2 separate regions of the Homo sapiens genome follow, and region 1 is linked to region 2. Evidence: promoter capture Hi-C in 16 types of primary human blood cells and fetal thymus (Javierre and others, 2016). All regions are on one chromosome and are shown on one strand. Each heading gives the region's core, a stretch centred on a gene start or on the middle of the fragment in contact. The rest is flanking DNA. Distances are from core to core; before and after follow the strand shown. Region 1 has its middle 19 kb from the start of MAD2L1. Region 2 holds the start of NDNF (neuron derived neurotrophic factor).

Region 1 (6,757 bases), core at 349-2,848, 1.0 Mb after region 2:
CACCTGTCTTCATTCCCCCACTCCCCACGTCTAATCTAGCTCCTTATTTTCAAACATGTTTTGTTCTGTTAGTGGTTATCACCATACCTTTAAGCATATGTTAATATTACTATTTTTTTTGTTGTTGTTTTTCAACTTTAGGTCACATCTATTGAAAGATGAGAAACTTAGTTCGTATTTCTTTATCCATCTACTCCTGAGTTTTTCTAGTCATATTATTTTCTTCTGGTGGTTATCTTTATAATTTTAAAGAATATGTTCAAGCTCTATATTTTGTTACATCAATTTTAGTATGTTGATTCCTTGCTATAGAAGGTACAAGAATTTGTGTCTGACATTGCTGGCCACATCTCTCTGCTACCTTAACATTCAGACTTTTGTGTTTTTTCCATTATCAATTTTAATACTAGTTAGATTCTCTTTTATAGTTATTATTGTCTTCCAGTTTCGTTGATTTGTTGACTCTACAAATTGAAATAGCATTTTCATTATCCTGATTATTGAATTACCCCTTATTGATTGATCAAATAGCATGAGTCTACCTATTAAGGGGAGAAAATGTAATCTAGTTCATTAATACTGAACGATGAATGTTCCAAGTGACAAGATAGAAAAGGAGTCCATAAACTCAATCTTCAAGCCTTCTTATGAAATTATTCATTTAGCCTATATCTTTAATATCCAAGAAATTAAACATAAAACATAAACATTTTTTACTGTGCTTGATTCTAGCCACCCATTCATTTGCTTCTTAACTATGAAGATGTTAATATTTGTTGAAAGATCAATTTTTCTTCTGTTCTCTTAATTACCTACTTTCTTCAGGAGTCACCTAGTATATCTGCTCCACTTGGACGTTCTCATTTTTGCTGTTTATTTCTTCTAAATTTTGTGAGTTTTAAAAATCTATGTGAATGATGGAAAAAAGGTGATCAATACTGGTAGCATGGTTTTCTACTGTGATACTAGGACTTTCCCTTTAATAAAAAGACAGATGCCATGGCTTGTGTACACAGAAGCTAGGAGTATGATTTAGGGTACATTTACATATTTTGTTCATCATGTATTTTTTACAGTTATTTTGACTTTTAAAACTATTGCATTAAAATATTATTTATCTAATTTAGTTAGTTTGGGGGCTCACCCTCAAAATTTTGTGTTCCAGGCTTCGTTCTTCTCACTGTAGTACCTGCCTTGAGACAGGGCCTGAAAGAGTAACCATCATTTCCAGTTATGGTCAGCAGAGGGCAGCAAAGGGCAGTGGAGTACGTGCTTGCTCTCAGGGCCTGGGCATCCTTCACTTTGTGGAGGCAAAAATCAGGAACTGGGAAGTAGAGGTCCAGATGGCCAGAATTAGAAGCGAAACTACTCACAGTGGCAGTGACCCAGGATAGAGACCAGGCTAAGCAGGGAGTGAAAAGGTTTAGTCAAAAGGGAGCCACAATTCGCAGCCCGGTATCTGCCATAGAGATGTGAGCAAGTAGACCTCAGGAGGTGAATCATCACTTGAGTTCTTTCGCAGTCCTGACTGCGACTCCCAGCGTCTCTCAAGCCCGCGGTGTGGCTCCTTAAAGTCTCAGGCATCGACTATCAACTGTGGAAGAGAATGAAAACTTCCTGTCTGAGAGTTGGTAACATGCTGCCAAGTGCTTAGGGGTTCCAGAACCAGCCATTTTGGGGAGGAGAGATTGAGTGGAGTATGAGCACCGAATACAAACGCTGAAGGATGATGACGATATTCGCATGTACATGCCAGCTAAATAATTTAGGAGCCTGCCTAAATGCGATGTGCTTTAAAATATAGTCCTGCCCCCCGAGCCAACACACATCTGGGAGGAAACAATGTTTCGTTGTGGAAACACCATGTGACTTTGGAATCAGACACACTGGACTCTCTGAATTGTTCGGTATGTGGCTCTTGGTTACTTAACTGATGGAGCCTCAGTTTCTCCATCTGTAAAAATGAAAATTCTTATCTCATAAGGCTACTTCGAGGAAATGCAAATGATGTACATGAACTACCTGGCAAAGAGCTTGGCCACCTGTAGTTGCTCGATTGACTTTACTACCTTTTCTCTCTGCCTTCCCTTTGGTCATGGAAGAATATCTGTAATATTGCTTGCTATTTTGAAATGTAAAGTCTTCCCATAAGCATAATTGACATTAGCTGAGAGATTGCTATGTTGGGTACCATAGAAAGTTTTCTATGGTATTATTTAAAATTCATAACAACCCTATGAGGTAACTTATCATCATCTCTGTCTTGCAGATGAGGACATGGAGGCTTTAATAGTATAACTGGTTTTCCCAGTGTCACATAGGTAGTGAGTAATGATCAGGGGTTCAAAACCAGGTAGTAGTTTGATTCCAGAGCTCATGCTCTTAACAGTATACAACCTCCTTTTCTATACAGACATTTTATCATCGATTAAAAATTTTAAGAGAAAAAATAGAATTAAGAAAATAGAAAAGAAAGAGGGAGAAAGAGAGAGAGGGAGAAAGAGAGAGAAAGAGAGAAAGAGGAAATAGTGTAGTTTTGTCTTTGTGATGTGCTTAAATGTTGGTATTACTGGCATAGCATCACCTTGTACTATCTCTTCTATGTGATTTTTAGGGTGAAAATTCAGTTTAAAGAAATAAATGAGAGACTGCTATGGACTGAATTGTGTCCCCCTAAATTCATATATTGACGCCCTCACCTCTCTCTCTCCCTGCCATGTAAAAATATAGTTAAAAAGTGGCTGTCTACAAGCCAGAAAGAGAGCCCCTACCAGAAACTGAAAATGCCAGCACCTTGATCTTGGACTTTAAACCTCCTGTGAGAAATAATTTTTTTCTGTGAGAAATAAACTTTTGTTGTTTAAGTAACCCAGTCTATGGGATTTGGTTATGGTGGCTTGAGCTGACTGAGACACAGACTCTGTCACTGTTATTCTATTAAGAGCTCATCTATCAAATTAAAATAAATAACAAGAATAATTTTTATTGGCTTTTTTCTCATTTTTTTCTAGTTTTTTAAATTGTTTTTTACATAACATAAATTTGCCATCATATTATTTTAAGTGTACAATCAGTAGTATTAAATACATTCATAATGTTGGGCAACCATCACCACCATCCATCTCCATAACCTTTTTCATCTTGTAAAATGGAAATGCTATTACCATTAAACAATAACCCCTCATTCTCCCCTCCCTCCAGCCCCTGGTAACCACCATGCTTCTTTTTGTAATCATAATTTTGTCTGATAGATATAGCTGATTCATGTGTTGTTTAAGTTCACTATTTCCTACCTATTTTTTGTCTGGTTGTCCTATTCATTATTGACAGTGGGATATTAAAATCTCCAACTATTATTGTAGAACTGATTATTTATCCATGCAATTTTCAGTTTTTGCTTTATGTATTTTAATTGACTGTTTTTAGATGCATGCATGTTTATACTTGTTATAACTTCTGCTGGGTTGAACCCTCTAAGTGTGCAATGTCCTTCTTTGTCTCCTCCTTTGTCTCTTGTTCTTGTCTTTTCTGATTTAAAGCTTTTTTAAAAAAATATTTGTATAGCCATCTCTTCTCGCTTCTGGTTACTGTTTGCATGGAACATCTTTTTTTCATTCTTTCACATTCCATCTATTTGTGCCTTTGGATCTAAAGTGAATCTCAATGTCAGGCGCAGTAGTATATGCCTGTAGTGATAGCAACCCGGGAGGCTGAAGCAGGAGGACCATTTGAGCCCAGGAGTTCGAGTCCAGCCTGGGCAACATAGTGAGATCCCATATCTCATAAAAAATTTCAAAATTAAAAAAAAATAAAGTGAGCCTCCTGCACGTAACATATATTTGGATTATGGTTTTTAATCCATTTGGCCAATCCTTTAATTGGAGTGTTTAATGCATTTACATTTAAAGTAATTACTAACAACAAAGGGACTTCTAACAGTTTGCTACTTGTTTTCTATATGGTTTGTAGTTTTTTGTCAATAATTTTCTGCATTACTGTCTTCTTTTGTGTTCACTTGATATTTTATATTAAAACGTTTACATTTCTTTCTCATTTCCATTTTTACATATTTTATAGCGATTTTTCTTTGTGGCTACCATGGGGATTACATCTGACATCCTAAAGTTATGCCAATCTAATTGGAATTTTTACCAGCTTCACCTCAATAACATCCACCTCTGTGCTCCCTTACAGGTTCGTCCCTACTCCTTTTGGTTGATGTCTTAAAATCATATTTGTATACACTGTGTGCCCCAAAACATAAACTAATACAGGCATACCTTGTTTTGTTGTGCGTTTTATCACACACACAGATACTGCATTTTTCACAAATCAAAGCTTTGTGGGAACCCTGCATAGAGCAAATCTATCAGTGTTTTTTTTACTAACGACACACAGTCACTTTGTGTCTCTGTCACATTTTGGCAATTCTCACAATATTTCACACTTCTTCATTATGATGATATTCATTTTTGTGATCAGTGATCTCTGATGTTACTATTGTGATTATTTTGGTGTCCTGTGAACTTAAGATGAACTTAATCACCTCTAAGTGTTCAAGTGAAAGTGTTGCATGTCTTTCACTTTAAATCAAAAGGTACAAATGATTAAGTTTAGTGAGGAAAGCATGTCAAAAGCCAGGAAGACTGAAGAGTCTTGCAACAGTTAGCCAAGTTGTGAATGCGGAGTAAAGATTCTTAAAGGACAGTAAAAGTGCTAATCTAGTGAACACATGAATGATAAGAAAGCGAAACAGCCTTATTCCAATATGGAGAAAGTTCTAGTGGTCTGGATGGAAGATCAAACCAGCCACAGCATTCCCTTAAGCCAAAGCCTATTCCAGAGCAAGGCCTAACTCTCTTCAATTCTCTTAAACCTGAGAGAGGTGAAGAAGCTGAAGAAAAGAAGTTGGAAGCTAGCAGAGGTTGGTTGATGAGGTTAAAGTGAAGAAGCATCTCCATAACATGAAAGGGCAACATGAAGCAGCAAATGCTGGTGTAAATAAAAGCTGCATCAAGTGATCCTGAAGATCTAAATGAGATCACTGAAGATGGTGGCCACACTAAACAACAAATTCTTCAATGTAGATCAAACAGCCTTTATATTGTAAGAACATGCCATCTAGGACTTTCATAGCTAGAGAGTAGAAGTCAATGCCTGGCTTCCAATCTTCACAGGACAAGCTGACTTTCTTGTTAGGGTTTGATGCAGCTGGTGGCTTTAAGTTGAAGCCAATGCTCATTTACCATTCAGAACATCCTAGGGCCCTCAAGAATGATGCCAAATCTACTCTGCGCACTAGAAATGGAACAACAAAGTCTGAATGTCAGCACATCTGTTTATAGCATGGCATTTTAAGCCCACTGCTGAGAACTAATGCTCGGAAAAAAAAAAAAAAAAAAAAAAAGATTGCTTTCAAAATGTTACTGCTTACTGATAATACACCTGGTCACCCAAGAGCTCTAATGGGAATGTGCAAGGAGATTAGAGTTGTCTTTGTGCCTGCTAACACAGCATCCATACTGTGGCACGTGGATATTATTTAAGAATACATTTTTTAAGGATATAGCTGTCATAGATAATGATCCTTCTGATGGATCTGAGCAAAGCAAACTGAAAACCTTCTGGAAAGGACTCACCATCCTAGATGTCATTAAGAACATTTATGATTTCTGGGAGGAGGTCAAACTATAAACATTAACAGGAGTTTGTAAGAAGTTGATTCCATCCCTCATGCATGAGTGTGAAGTGTGCAAGACTTCAGTGGAGGAAGTAAGCACATATGTGGTGGAAATAGCAAGAGAACTAGAATTATAAGTAGAACCTAAAGATGAAACTGAATTGCTGTAATTCTATGACAAAACTTGAACGGCTGGGTGCAGTGGCTCACGCCTGTAATCCCAGCATTTTGGTAGGCCGAGGCGGGCAGATCACCTGAGGTCGGGAGTTGGAGACCAGCCTGGCCAACATGGTGAAACCCTGTCTCTACTAAAAATTAGCCAGGTGTAGTGGCAGGTGCCTGTAATCCTAGCTACTCGGGAGGCTGAGGCAGGAGAATCGCTTGAACCCAGGAGGCAGAGGTTTCAGTGAGCCAAGGTCGTGCCATTGCACTCCAGCCTGGGTGACAAGAGCAAGATTTTCTCTCAAAAAAATAAATAAATAAATAAAAATAAAAAAACTTGAACAGATGAGAAGTTGCTTCTTATGGATGAGCAAATAAAGTGGTTTACTGAGATGAAATCTACTCCTGGTGAAGATGCTGTGACTTGTTGAAATGACAGCAAAGGATTTAGAATATTTTATAAACTTACCCGATAAAGCAGTGGCAGAGTTTGAGAGGATTGACTCTAATTTTGAGAGAAGTTATAATGTGGGTAAAATGCTCTCAAGCACCATGAAATGCTACAAAGAAATCTATTGTGAAAGGCAGAGTCAATCAATATGGCAAACCTTTTTGTTGTCTTAGTTTAATAAATTACCCCAGCAATTCCAATCTTCAACAGCCACTACCCTGATCAGTCAGCAGCTAACAACACTGAGGCAAGACCCTCCATCAGCAAAAAGTTCAGGACTCATTGAAGGCTCAGATGATTGTTAGCATTTTTCAGCAATAAAGTATTTTTATTTAAGGTAAGTAAAAAGTAATGGCAAAATCTGCAATTACTTTTGCACCAACCTAATACATTGCATTTTAGACATAATACTATTACACACTTAGTAGACTACAGTATAGTGGTATAAACCTAACTTATGCACT
Region 2 (6,844 bases), core at 3,994-6,493:
TGCTTAACTCTTCACTACACCGCAGGTTCCTCAGAGCAAGGGCCTCATTTATTCCTTTGTTCCCAGCAGCGAGCAGAGGGCTGGCATATAACAGGTGCTCAGCAAATGTTTATTAAGGGAATAAACACCCTCAGGAAGAATAAAAGGTGACTCAGACTTGATGTTTCAACTTTACATTGGCTAAGTGTGTAAGAGGTGTCAAATTACAGATAATCATTAATTTTTAAGAGACTTTAGAGAACTACTTCTTGAACTGTTTAAAGAAGAGACTGAAACTGAACCAACAGACAAAAGACTATCTGGTGCTAGTATGATCCGGGATGTGATACTGTTTTATCCAAGCTTCAAGATTTGCAGGATGGTTTCTATCGGTTCTGTTGTCCCAGCCCCCAATGTAGAGATGTCGACTATAACACTCTAGAAGTTTATGTATAGAAGGATCTATTTACATTTGTGTAAAATGAGAATTGTATTATACAATACAACTGAGGTGATGGCCAATCCATGGGCAGAATATTATCATAAGCTTCTGATGATCTTTCAACCTTCTTTCATGAGTGAGCCTAGTTCATATGACAGTCGTTCTTAGGGCCACTTGACAGTCTGAAAATTATTGTGGACCCCAAGGAGTTTTTGTTATATAGGTTATTTCTTTCAATAGTCAACCTATGAATTACAACAGAAATCTTTAAAATATTTATTAATTCATTTAAATAACTATAGTAAACCTACTGCACATTAAAGTAACATTATTTTCCAAAGAAATGTTTTACATTTTTGTTAATCTCTTTAATGTCTGGCTTAATAAAAGACAGTTGAATTCTCATATCATGTCTGTTTTCAATCTGTTGCAATTTATTTTGTTTGAAGTATATCTTCAAACAAAGGAAAATCCAATTTTTCACAGATATGTAGTTGGAAAATGAAGAAACATTTCAATAATCTTTTCAAACAATTCTGGATATTCTTCTTTAACGTGACACCATAACTCAACAAATGGTAGTTTCTTAAACCTTATAATTGCAGTATGGAATATGAAACCATATCAGTTAACTTTTCATACTGTGTTACATTAAAACCCGTTCGTCTATTTTGCATTTTGAATGGATCCTTATGCGTGATTTTAGATCATGATGCATTATTAGTCATTTGGAAAATACTTGTTCATTGAGCTATGCAGTTCTTCCAAATGTTGATATATGTCATTGTACGATATCTAAAACCACATTCATTTAAATGATCACGATCTTACTAGGAAAGACTTTAAGTACTGGGAAACTGTCAAGCTCATGGTGACAAAAACAAGTTTTAAAAATTCTAATTTTTTACTCAAAAGTTCAAGTTTTTCACTGGAAATAAATATTGCTGTTTGTTTGCCTTGAAATGACAGGCTGACTTCATTCATTTGTTAAAAAATTTTTTTAAAAAAGTGTTTGCTAAGTATCCAAGTCTGAGTAACCATAGTTTGTCTGTCAGTTGTTCTTTCAAGTAAAAATATGTCACATAAAAAAGCAGGTAGTTTAGCTCACAAATCAATTACATAAATGTCTTCGTTCAGGATAAACAACTGCACTTTAGTATGCCACAGAAGAGCTTTATTTGTGCCTCCCAGTTTGCCATACGGAATATTAAAAAGACATAGTCAAGAGTTGAAATTTAATAAAATAAGTATTTTTTACTGCTTCATCAAAGACATTCTTAAGCGAAACTCATATTTGGGGCAGTAAAAAATACAATAACTACCAGGATAGTTGGGTGCCACTGCTTTGAACATGCTAAGGTGCTAGCAGGTTTACCCACCATTGCTTTCGTATCATCAGTGCAAATGTCAACACAGTCAAAGAAGGCAAATTATGTCTTAGAATTAATATGAAACTAGCTTTGTCCTTGCAGACCTCCCCTGAAAGGATCTCAGAAACCCCCATGGGTCTACGAACCCCAGTTTGATGACTGCTGCCTTAAAACATAGGTTTCAACCAGTAGTTCTCCTAAATAGACTTAAATTCACTCTTGGTTTTATAATAGTTTTTGGCTTTTTCCTCCAATTGCATATTTAAGAATTGCCTGGTTTAAAAGTAAATGCAGATATAAATATGTAAATATCTTGCAAACACTTGAATATGTTATACTATCCAATCCTCACAAAACATCTGTAAGTCAACTATAATTTATTCCATTTTTATATTTGAAAAAAGCCACTGATGCTCAAAGAGGTTTTGTCCTACAGCAAATAATTTTCAGAGTCTAGAATTAAATATAAGCCTGTTTGGCTAAATAACATATGTTCTATCTAATATGGCACATTACCCAAGTCTCTCAAAACACTGAAGATAACTTACATATATATATAAATATAAATATATACAATGCCACTGGTTTTATCGGTGGCTTGTTTTTTTAGAAGACAGAGTATACTGATATATGCAAATCCTGATGTTCAAAACACAGATATTTTGATGAATTTTATGAAATTCACAGAGTCCTTACAGAACTTTCCTACAGACTCAGGTCTGTCATTAATTGCCTGAATTAATGATGTCTCTCTAACATCATTAGCACTCAGTTTCTTCCTAATGGCAATTTTAAATCAATACCCCAATCACTGGTTCATTTGAATTCCCAATCAACCCTGTGAAATGCATGGGGGTAGATAGTGTTGCCCCAATGTACCAAAGAGGGAAGTGATCCTCATATACATGCAGCATAAACTAAAATTGCATTGGTCAAGAATACCAAGACTTTTTGTAAATAAGAGCAGCAGCTTTTCAGTCTAGTTGTCTCCATCTGTCTGCCTCTTTCTACCCTGGTCACTAGCCCTGTCCTCCCTTGGCTTCATTGGTCCTACTCTGTTGCCCTTCTTCTCTGGTGTTCATCCCTTTCTTTTGCAGGGTCCTCTTCCTTCATCCATGTCTAAGACATTGGTGTCTGCCATGTCCCATCCTAAGTCTTCTCTTCCTGGCTGCCTTACTCCTCCCCCATGCTTGCCAGACACCTGAATGTATCCTTCCAGCTCCTGTCTACCCTCCTAGGAACTTTCCTTTTGGCTGCCTAAATGGCAGGGCACTCAGATGTCACAGAGGCACCCCCAACTCCACAAGTTTAAGACAGAACTCATTACATTCCTCCTAAAACTGCTCCTCTCTGTGTGTTTCTCTTGGCTAGTGGCACCATCCCTGCCTTAGCGCACCAGCCAGAAAACTGGGAGTCAGTCTAGACTCTCTTCTCTCCATTACCCTCTATGTCCAATCAATCACTAAGCCTTGTCTATTCTATTTCCTAAATATCTCTAGAGCTGTCCTAACCTCCCAAACAGCATTTCTGCTGCCTTGGTTCAGACCTAATTTTTCCTCTGGAAATAACCTCACTGTGATCTCTCTTCTATTTGTCTTGCACAGTGAAACCAGAGGAAACCTTCTAAAACACATTATCTAATAATACTTACAAACCTTAGAATCTGTCCTAGCTTAACACCTTTAACAGTTTCCCAACTACTCACCACCTCCAGGCAAGTTCTGGCTCCTTACACCCAGAGAGCCTTGTGTGGCTTGGCCTTGCTTACTTCACCTGCAGTCTAGCCGCACCTAGTCTCCTAGTTTCCAGGACACACCATGTACTTTGACACTTTCCTAACCTCTTCACTTGCTTCTGTTTGTGGAATGCCCTCCCCCCTCCACCACATCCTTGTTGGCCTTGTATTTCTTCCTTGTCTTTCAGAACTCTACACTGAAATCTCTACCAAGAGAAGCTTCTGAAGGGGAGTTAGCTGTTTCCTTTTCCATGCTTCCACAGGACCAGGTACCTGCACTTATTATAGTGCTAATCACATTTTCATTTATGCCTCTGTCTCCTCACCAGGCGGTGAGTTCCTTAAAGGCAGCACCATCACCTCTAAATCTCAGCACATAAGACATACCTGGTACACAGCAGGGACTTCGTAAGCTTTGTTAATGAATGACCCAGGGATCTGCTCTAGATCGTATCTCCTAAGTGGAGATACAATGAGGACTTTTCTCACCTCATTGTCTCATCTGCAAAAAATATGCTTGCACAGTGATCTGAAATGTCCTTTTCAGTGTTTAAAAATTTTACAAAACTATTTTATGTCGTGTAAACGGTTTTATAAATCCATTTCCTGCAGTGTTTTCATCTAGGAACCACAAAACTTTAGGAGCTGCATTGGTCCACCCTCTGTGACCAACTGTTTAGCAAAAAAGATCATAGTTCTTAATATGACCGGGATAAGGCTGATTTTCATCCTACCTACCTTAATTTCATTGTGGCAATAACAGAACTAGTGTTTTCAATACTGACACTATATCTTAATAAATAATTATATATTATTAGAACTTATATAAAACCAGGTTTGCTGGAAATCAGGTTCTCAGTTGCAAAAATGAGATCACCAAATCATTCGGTACTTTTTTTTTCTTGGTTTTCCTAAGCCCAGGCCAGGTTGCTAATTAGGTAACTTTTTATCATAATTACCTAGTCAGCCTTAATGGCTTCACACACTCTGCTCCGTTTCACTGGTCCTGTAGGGCCGCTTTTTCAATTGTTAAAACAGCTGCTGAGTTTCAAATCGGAGGAGGCTCGGTCTGCGCCGAGGGGGAAGCGCTCCCTGAGTGAAGGCTGTGATAGGCAGGCGTTCGGGTGAAAAGTGGGACATGAATGCACAGTTTGCACACTCTGCTTTCCGCCTCCAACCACCAACCTTCTGGATTTAACACGTCCCCCTCCCTGCCCCCAGATCAACCCCAGAGTTTCCCTCTATTGTGCACCCCGGTCTGCTTGACAGTGTGATGGTCCCGCGTGCGCGTCTCCTGGGTTTTGCAGCTTTGTCGGGGGCTCGGTGGGCCTCCTTCATTCTCCCCGAGTGGCGCTAAGGTTAGGACAGCAGCGTGTCCCTCGCGATGCCGCCCGCGAGGGTCCTGTTTGGGGAGCGCTGGGTCGCTGAGCAGGGTGGTGTGTGTGTGAGAGAAAGAGAGGGAGGGAGGGCTACAGGGAGAGAGAAAAGGAGGGAGAGGGTGTCTGTGTGTGAGTGTGTGTATGTGTATGAGTGTGTGTGTGTGTGTGTGTGTGTGCGTGCGCGCTGGCGCGCAGCGGGAGGGAGAGAAGGAGGGACGGAGGGGGAGGCAACGGGCAGAGGAGGGAGGGGGCGGGCGGGCAGCGGTGAGGCGGGAGGGGTTAGGGCTGGGAGGGGAAGAGACTCCGGGCTTCAGCAGTGACACTCGGGAGCGAACACACACTCCCCACTTCCAGCCGCGAGAGAGTGGAGCTAACTGAGCAGCGCACCCGCCACGGCCGCTGCCGCCCCGTGCGCCCGGCTCTCCCAGCACCCCGCGCGGCGCTCCAGCCAGGCGCCTGTGCGACTAGCGGCGGCCGGCGAAGCCCGCGCCAGCCCCGCGGGTCGCTGCGGCATCCTCCCGCCGCCCAGCCCCCGCACGCTCCCTGCAGTTTAAAAGGACCTCCCGCCGCTTCTCGGCGCTGCCCCGGGATTCCCCAGCCCCGCGCGGCTCCCTACTCCACTTCGCAGCAACTTCGGCGACCGCGCGCCGCCCGCCCTCGCCCGCCTTTGAAGTTTGCTGTGCCGACCGCAAAGTTGGGACACTTCAGCGGATTGAATTTTTCTCTTTTATCTGCCTCCGTCCCCGCCCTCCAGGCTTCTCGTTCCTGGATATTGGTGCTTAGCATCTTGGCAGGGTCCGGGGACGTGGACTATTTCGCACACCACACCACGGGGAGGGATTTTTTTCTATTTTCCCTACGAAAAACAGATCTTTTTAAGGTAAGTGGGGAGAGGAAAGCAATGCCCCAGAGACCCGACGCCTTAGCCCGCCACCCTGAGACCTAGCACAAGGAGCGTTCACGCCCGAAGGGTCATCCGAGATGGGGGCTCGAGGCACGCGCCCCCAAATCTTCAAGGCCCAAGAAGCTTCTCAAGGGCGCCCTATCCGTAGGAGCTGAGGGCATGAGGGGCAGGAGCAGGTTTCCCTCGTTTTTTTTTTTTTATTGTTGTTGTTGTTTGTTTGTTTGTTTGTTTTTAATTTAGCTGCTTTCGAAGCTGGGCGGCCCGGAGAGATGTGAGGAGGTGGACAGACAGCGCAAGGGCGGGGAAGACCTGGGACCCGGGAGCTCGGGGTGCAGTGGGGTCTGGGGAGCCGCGGAGCCTTTATCCCGGACTTAGCCTGGACACTTACTTTGCCCGCCTGCCAAGAGGGCTGTTGCCTCCCTTTCCAGGTTCATGCCCTCCGCCCGCCGCTAGGGAAAGTCTGCGGGACTGGGGTTTTGCAGAGGGCGTCTGCGTGTAGGGCGAAAAGCTAGAGGTCCAGGCAGCGCACGAGTTCTTGGTGGGCGTCTGGGAGCTGCGCAGCCGGGGCCGGGAGTTCGGTTGGCCCGACCCCCAACCGCTCTGGCTCCTCATTTGTCCTCTGCGTGGTAGGCGAGCATCGTTATAGAAACTTCCTTGGGCTGAGCGAGGTGGCCTGGGACCGGCTCATACTTTCTTCCGGAGAGCAGAGCGGCCACCGAGGTGACGCCCCCTACGGCCCCAGCCAGGAGACTCGGCTTCGTGCCCTCGTCCTGTCTGTGCGTGAGTTGGGGTTCGCTCTCACCCGCGCTACCTTTCTAACTGAGCGGAGTCGCCGCGGCCCCGATAACCTAGGAGTCCGAACGAGTGATTGCAGGTCCCAGCTGTTTTCTTGGAGGCACTTTGCAAACTGCTGAATTTGGAGTGCGGTTTCGTTGCATTGTGCGCTCTCGGTTCACCTTTCTGCCCGCACCCTATCCCAGGCCCAGGCGTGAGAGCTCCCGGCAGTTCCCCGGACCCGCCCCGCATCAGCTCCTC

What was found. The method cuts DNA at HindIII sites, captures the fragments that hold promoters and counts their contacts. A CHiCAGO score of 5 or more calls a contact.
Region 1: a fragment that was not itself captured here is called in contact with the fragment with the promoter of NDNF in region 2 in 1 of 17 cell types (monocytes); the score reaches 5.3 in monocytes.

Annotation. Positions count from the first base shown.
Region 1 is chr4:120,044,558-120,051,314 of GRCh38, reverse strand. No RefSeq gene overlaps it. Among named protein-coding and RNA genes, the nearest start is that of MAD2L1, 19 kb to the left of the region's middle. RefSeq lists an enhancer at 1,237-1,616. The HindIII fragment of the contact is 3,886 bases long and covers 1-3,541 here.
Region 2 is chr4:121,070,934-121,077,777 of GRCh38, reverse strand. NDNF (neuron derived neurotrophic factor) reads left to right here and starts at 5,243. Exons shown (of 4, transcript NM_024574.4): 1 at 5,243-5,785. It overlaps NDNF-AS1 (NDNF antisense RNA 1), which reads right to left and starts at 6,416. Exons shown (of 3, transcript NR_187407.1): 1 at 6,198-6,416; 2 at 3,914-4,028. The HindIII fragment of the contact is 1,993 bases long and covers 3,942-5,934 here.